Regions from separate parts of the Homo sapiens genome. Here region 1 is linked to region 2. The links are contacts of gene promoters, found by promoter capture Hi-C in human tissues and cell types (Jung and others, 2019). All regions are on one chromosome and are shown on one strand. Each heading gives the region's core, a stretch centred on a gene start or on the middle of the fragment in contact. The rest is flanking DNA. Distances are from core to core; before and after follow the strand shown.

The links. The method cuts DNA at HindIII sites, captures the fragments that hold promoters and counts their contacts. A contact is called where the count stands out against the background at its distance.
Region 1: the fragment with the promoter of GPIHBP1 here is called in contact with a fragment that was not itself captured in region 2 in 4 of the 25 tissues and cell types used here (adrenal gland, aorta, lymphoblastoid cells and 1 more).

Annotation. Positions count from the first base shown.
Region 1 is chr8:143,211,234-143,214,495 of GRCh38, forward strand. GPIHBP1 (glycosylphosphatidylinositol anchored high density lipoprotein binding protein 1) reads left to right here and starts at 1,985. Exons shown (of 4, transcript NM_178172.6): 1 at 1,985-2,086; 2 at 2,589-2,717. The coding sequence starts at 2,035. The HindIII fragment of the contact is 48,923 bases long and covers 1-3,262 here.
Region 2 is chr8:142,994,167-142,997,561 of GRCh38, forward strand. The region is part of intron 1 of LY6E-DT (LY6E divergent transcript); the gene reads right to left. It also overlaps the pseudogene CDC42P3. Among named protein-coding and RNA genes, the nearest start is that of LY6E-DT, 23 kb to the right of the region's middle. The HindIII fragment of the contact is 9,153 bases long and covers 1-3,395 here.

The sequences.
Region 1 (3,262 bases), core at 735-3,234, 220 kb after region 2:
TGTAGCGGTAGCCGGGGCGGGGCGCGGGGGAGGTAGGGCAGCAGGAAAGCGGGGCACCAGGGAAGAGGGGCGACAGGGAGGCGGGGCGTGGGGGAGGAGGGGTGAAGATGACGGGAGGCGGTGCACGGGGGAGGCGGGGCACAGGAGAGGCGGGTCGACAGGGAGGTGGGACGCTGGGGAGAAGGGGCGAATGGGGGCGGGGCGATGGGGAGGCGGGGCGACGGGAAGTAGGGGCAGTGGGGGAGGCGGGGCATGGGGTAGACAGGTGTGGGGGAGGCGGGGCACCAGGGAAGCGGGGCGTGGGGGGAGGCGGGGCGTGAGAGAGGCGGGGCAGTGGGGGAGGCGGGGCGTGGGGGGAGGCGGGGCAGTGGGGGAGGCGGGGCAGTGGGGGAGGCGGGGCGTGGGGGGAGGCGGGGCAGTGGGGGAGGCGGGGCAGTGGGGGAGGCGGGGCAGTGGGGGAGGCGGGGCGTGGGGGAGGCGGGCCGAGGGCGAGAGGGCGCAGGGAGGCGGGTGGGGGTGGGGCCACGCGCGGAGGGGCAGGGAAGGGCGGGGCGGGGCGGGGCGGGACGGGGCTGGGGGGGACAGGCATCAGGTATGAAGAGTTTGGGGCTGGCGGGGCGTGTCCGGCTGTGGCGTGGGCACCACTATGGGAGACCCTGGCTTGGCAAGTGACCTTGCAGCCTTGGCTGGGGAAGGGCTAGATGCTGGGTGGGTGCCGGTAGAGTGGAAAGAATGACAGGTTCAGGTGAATTAAGGAAGGATGGTTGACTCGGTGGCTGGGACATTAGAGACAGGTATTCCCAGCCTCAGGCGCTGTCCTAAGCCCAGCAGGTACTGACCCTTGATGGTCACCTCACCCTATGAGGGAGCTGAGGCCTGGGGAACCCAAGGGGCTAGTCCAGAACCCACAGCCGGGGGAAGGAGGAACCGGGTCTTAAACCCAGGTAGCTCACTCCAGAACCAACTCAACCTCTGTTACAGGTGGCCGGCCAGAAAATGCCCCACCCCACCCATTGACAGTCGGGGAAACTGAGGCCTCAGTAGGTGAAGTGCCTGGCCCAAGCACCAAGGCACACAGAGACGCTCAGGCTTGACCCTGGCTCCGGACGTCCAGCCCCTGCCGCTGCCCCACCCCTCTGCTGCCCTTGGGAGAGGGGCAGCTCAGAGCCTCGACTCTGCACTCTGCATCAGCACCCCCCAAGGGCTTGGGTGGGGTCTTGAGAGGAGGGGGTGGCCTCAGGGAGCGACCTGGGCTTTCCAAGCCTCTCCCAGAGCAGCCCGTCTCTCACACAAGGCCAGAAGGCAGGTGGGTGCTGATGGCTTTCCCAGCAAGAGACCGAGGGGGCGGGCCCCCAAGAGCTCCAGAAAGCTCTCCACCGGACACCAGCAGGAACAGCACTGCAGATGGAGCAGCAGGGGCAAAGACCCGAGGTGATAGTGAGGGGCAGCCGGGAGGCCTTGGGCCTAGCAGTGCATTGCTGAGTGTGGGTGAGGAGGAGGTGAGCACGCAGCCTTAGCTTGAGGGCATTGACTGTGTTTTTACTTAAATGCTCTTAAAGGGGCCTGGGTGTGATGCTGACTCTAGGATGACGATGCTTGGCCAGTGACCAGCAAATAGAGGGTCTGTGACCCCAAGGTCCTGTGACTATGGAGCCCAGACATGGGGTTGAGGGGTGTCAGGCATGGCCCATTCCGGGGCGAGGCTCCCTGCCCTGCACTGCAGGGCTGAGGCACTGAGCGGCAAGCCAGGCGAGGGCCAGCACCACCTTCCACCTGCCGTGGCACGGGTGCACAGGACGTTCCAAGGCCAACCACAATGACTTCTCCTTCCCCTCTGGCCCCAGATGTCCTGGAGGGAAACAACAGTCCCTGGCCTGGCGCCTGGAGCTGGGGACCAGTGTGAGGCCCATTGTTTGAGGCTGGAGCTGGTGGGGGCCACTAGGAAGCCCACGGCAATGCCCTTCATCCCACTTACCGCAGCTCCAGAGCCCTGCGGGAGGACTCAGAGTCAGGGACACAGCAGCGTCCGGCGAGATGAAGGCGCTCGGGGCTGTCCTGCTTGCCCTCTTGCTGTTCGGGCGGCCAGGTGCGGGGCAAAGGGTAACCCTGCGGTGAGGGGGCAGCAACAGCAGTCCTGGAGCACAGGGACCTCCAGGGACCCCCAGCAGGGGCTTAGGAAGAAGGAGGGGATGAGGCTGGAGTCCCCAGCCCAGAGCAGCATGGATGGAAGCTGGCCTGGGTCCCCGAGAGTCCCCAAATATCTGCGCCCCTGTTTATGTGGGGTGCGGGGAGGGGCTACCATAAAGGGCCAGCCCACAGCAGCTGCTGTTGTAACTACAATGCCAGGGCACACTCGGCTGCAGGACAGTGAGTAGGGTGAGTAGGGTAGTAGGACAGTGAGTAGGGTGAGTAGGCTGCAGGACAGTGAGTAGGGTGAGTAGGGTGTTCAGGGTAGGGGCCCTCCCCAGCCACCCTGGGGCCCGAGGATGGCTGGGGAGGGCCAAGGAGTTGGGGGCACGATGCTTGCCCAGAGCAGGTGTCCTCCATACCCGGGTAGCTGAGGCTTACAAGCATCCCTGCACGGCCAGGGAGAGGGCAGACACAGCAGGAGGAAGAGGAAGAGGACGAGGACCACGGGCCAGATGACTACGACGAGGAAGATGAGGATGAGGTGGAAGAGGAGGAGACCAACAGGCTCCCTGGTGGCAGGAGCAGAGGTATGGCCGCCCCAACCCCAGAGCCCTGCTGCCTGATCTGCCTGGAGCATTCTGGGCGGGGCTGTGTGATGGAAGCCAGCAGGCCACAGTCCTGCTGTGAGCTTGCCTCCAGCAGAGTGGGGGACACTCAGTACACCCCTCACTGCTGCTCACCATGACACTCAGTTGCCTTCCAGAGTAGGGAACAGGGGAAGAAGCCACCAGCTGGGAGGGTCAGTGGTGCCAGGATGTAGAGGTTAAATAGGAGTTCACCAGGCAGAGAAGGGCTCAGTGGGGGCCTAGGGTGGAGACACAAGCACAGAGGCCCCAGGGTAGGGTTCAGTTTTGTGGGGCAGAGAGAGCAGCAGGGTGGGCCGGTCCTGTACAGGGGAGGGCTGGATTGGCTGCTGCGGGCTGGGGAGCCAGGGAACCGCTTAGAGCAGAGCAGAGTAGGGCTAAGAAGAGCCCACCCTCACTGCCCACCTGACACACCCCTACACGTGGGCCACCCTCTGCTCTCTCCCATCCCGAGAAAAGCAGAGCAAATCGCCGCATCCAACCCGAGG
Region 2 (3,395 bases), core at 80-2,579:
AGGGAGACCAGTCCCCCTCAGTGGGAGTCTGAGAGGGTGACTCTAAGATTCCCCACCAACACCAACCACTGACTGGTGTGGAGGAAGCCCAGGGTGTGGGACCCTAGCACGGTAGGAGGTGGCCGTCAGGACCAGGAGTGTGAGGCTGGTGGGAAGAAAGGACCTTTTGCCAAATAGGAGGTGGTGTCTTCTTTAGGTATGTCAGGGTGGGAGGCTCCCACTCCATGTCTCATTGACCATCAACAACGGTAGCCCCAGATCCCCAGTGCCCAGCCAGCCTCTCTGGGACCTCTCTGTGCAGGTAAGACTTTGTAAACACTGAAGGGGCTCTTCCTGCCTGCTGCATAAAGAAAGACCATGGCATTGCAATAAGGAAAGAGTTTAATAGACAAAAGGCTGGCCACGCTACAGAGATGGAGTTAGCACTCAAACAACCTCATGCAAAACTCACAGGTTAGGGGTTGTTCAAAGACAGTTTTAGGGGAAGGAGTTGGGGAGGCCAGGTAATAGGTGCTTGCTGCTGATTGCTTAGAGCAGAGATGAAATCACAGGGGGTCAACGCTGAGTCCTAAGGACTGAGTCACTTCTGGGTGGGGTCACACGAGTGGGATTGGCAGGTCCAGGTGGGTCCAGGTGGAGCCACGGTCATGCACAAACACTGGAAAAGATTTCTCAAAAAGCCAATCTACAATAGTGGTGTTATCTGCAGGAATAACTGGGGAAGTTGCAGATCTTATAACCTCAGAAAAAAATGGCTGACAACCCTTTCTGTCTGTGCCTTACCAGGACTCAGGCAAGCTCCACCTCCTGGGTTCAAGCAATTCTCATGCCTCAGCCTCCTGGGTAGCTAGGATTACAGACACATGCCACCACACCTGGCTAATTTTTATATTTTTTGGTAGAGATGGTGTTTCACCACCATGTTGGCCAGGCTGGTCTCAAACTCCTGACCTCAAGCGATCTGCCTGCCTTGGCCTCCCAGTGTGCTGGGATTACAGCTGTGAGCCACCATGCCCAGCCCAGTACCTGTTTTTACTGAAGACAAATCATAGTAGGACAAATTTATTTAAAATAATTTTTCATCTTATACTTGGCCTGAGTGTTTGCATAATGTCAGCACGAATAATTATTTGCCATATAGGCCTGTCTTAAAATTGGCTTTGCTGGAACTTTATTCTATAACGAATCCCAGATTTGACTTTTTTTAAAGCCTTGAGCCCAGCCATGATTTATTGGTGCCTGAAAATACCTATATAAATTGGGCAATGTCCTCTCCTCAAGGTCCCAGGATAATTTGGGGCTCCTGAGCCTGTCAGAAAGTGACATTCTTTACATACTACAGGCAAGGAACTCTGTACAGTGACTGTGTAGACAAGGGATGAGGCCAACTTCATAAGTCAGCTTTGACTCCTTAAAGCAGTCTGTTTGTATCCAAAAGTACATCCTTCCGGTCAAAGCTTTGGTAAAATAACCAGTGTCTCCAATTATGTCCTGTTACAAAAGAAAATACATTCTTATTGAACTTATGCAAATAACTATACTGCCGTAAATTAAGTATACTTGCAAATAGTTTTCAAATTTCTACAGAAATCAGGTAGACAGAAATGTACTTCAGAGTTTACTCACAGGAGGGTACTTTACCCAGTTGTGAAAAGCTGTAGAGTGCTGCTAATGCCCCAGTGAAGAAGCTGAGGTCAACATCAGATTTGAAATATTTAAAGTGGATACAAACTTATTTCAGCAATGCAGACAATTAAGTGTGTTTTTGTGGGCAATGGTGCTGTTGGTAAAACATGTCTCCTGATATCCTACACAACAAACAAATTTCCATCAAAATATGTACCAACTGTTTTTGACAACTATGCAGTCACTGTTATGATTGGTGGAGAAACATATACTCTTGGACTTTTTGATACTGCAGGGCAAGACGATGATGACAGATTATGACCGCTGAGTTATCTACAAACAGATGTATTTCCAGTCTGTTTTTCAGTGGTCTCTCCATCTTCATTTGAAAATGTGAAAGGAAAGTGGGTGTCTAAGATAACTCACCACTGTCCAAAGACTCATTTCTTGCTTGTTGGGACCCTAATTCATCTCAGAGATGACCCCTCTACTATTGAGAAACTTGCCAAGAACAAACAGAAGCCCACCACTCCAGAGACTGCTGAAAAGCTGATCCGTGACCTGAAGGCTGTCAGGTATGTGGTGTGTTCTGCACTCACACAGAAAGGCCTAAGGAATGTATTTGATGAAGCAATATTGGCTTCCCTGGAGCCTCCAGAACTGAAGAAGAGCCACAGGTGTGTGCTGCTAGGAACATCTCTCCAGAGCCCTTTCTGCACAGCTGGTGTCAGCATCATACTAAAAGCAATGTTTAACTCAAACTAAAGATTAAAAATTAAAATTCGTTTTTGCAATAATGACAAATGTCCTGCACCTACCCACATGCACTCGTGTGAGACAAGGTCCATAGGTATGGCCCCCTCTTCCCCCTCCCAGTACTAGTTAATTTTGAGTAATTGCGTATTGTCAGAAAAGTGATTAGTACAAGTTTTTGTTTTGTTGCTTCAAAATTTTTTTGTTTAAAAGCAAGGCATGCTTGTGGATGACTCTGTAACAGACTAATTGGAATTGTTGAAGCTGCTCCCTGGTTCCACTCTGGAGAGTAATCTGGGAGATCTTAGTGTGTGTGTGTGTGTGTGTGTGTGTGTGTGTCTCCTCTTTCTTTGGGAGGAGTGTGTGTGGGGTTTATTTTTTAGTCCTTTTTTTTTTTTAATTCATTAACCAGTGGATAGCCCTTAGGGGAGGAGGACGGATTGATTCCACATTCCACTTCCTAGATATGGTTTAGAAAACATGTTCCCCACCTGGGGCTCTCAGGAAGGAGTATAGTAAATGCCTCATTTAATAACAGACTCCTTTTTGAAAGTTGCCTTTTCTCTCCACCTTTGAGTAGATCCAGTATTTGATGAAACTCATGAAAGTGGGTGGAGCCTGTCTTGCCCCTCCTCTTTTCTAGGACACACTATATGTGACTGTGACTTTCAAAGACATTTGTTTGCCATTTGCTGATTTTGGGGGGAAGTTAATTTCTAACTTCTTTCACTAATAAATGAAGAAAAGTATTGCACCTTTGAAATGCACCAAATGAATTGAGTTTGTAATTAAAAATTTTTTTCCCTGTCAGTCATTGTCTCACATGCTTAGCATCGATTTGCAGCTCAGTAGTATATGGTGTTCCTAGAATGCAGCTGAAGACCTGGTATGTAGAGGAAATACCAGGGGTGGTGCTAGAAGATAGACATCTGTGGAATGATTCACATCCTTTCATTAGGAGGATAGAGGCCTTCTTCATTAAGAAGCTGGGGGTGGGGAGAACACATAACAACATG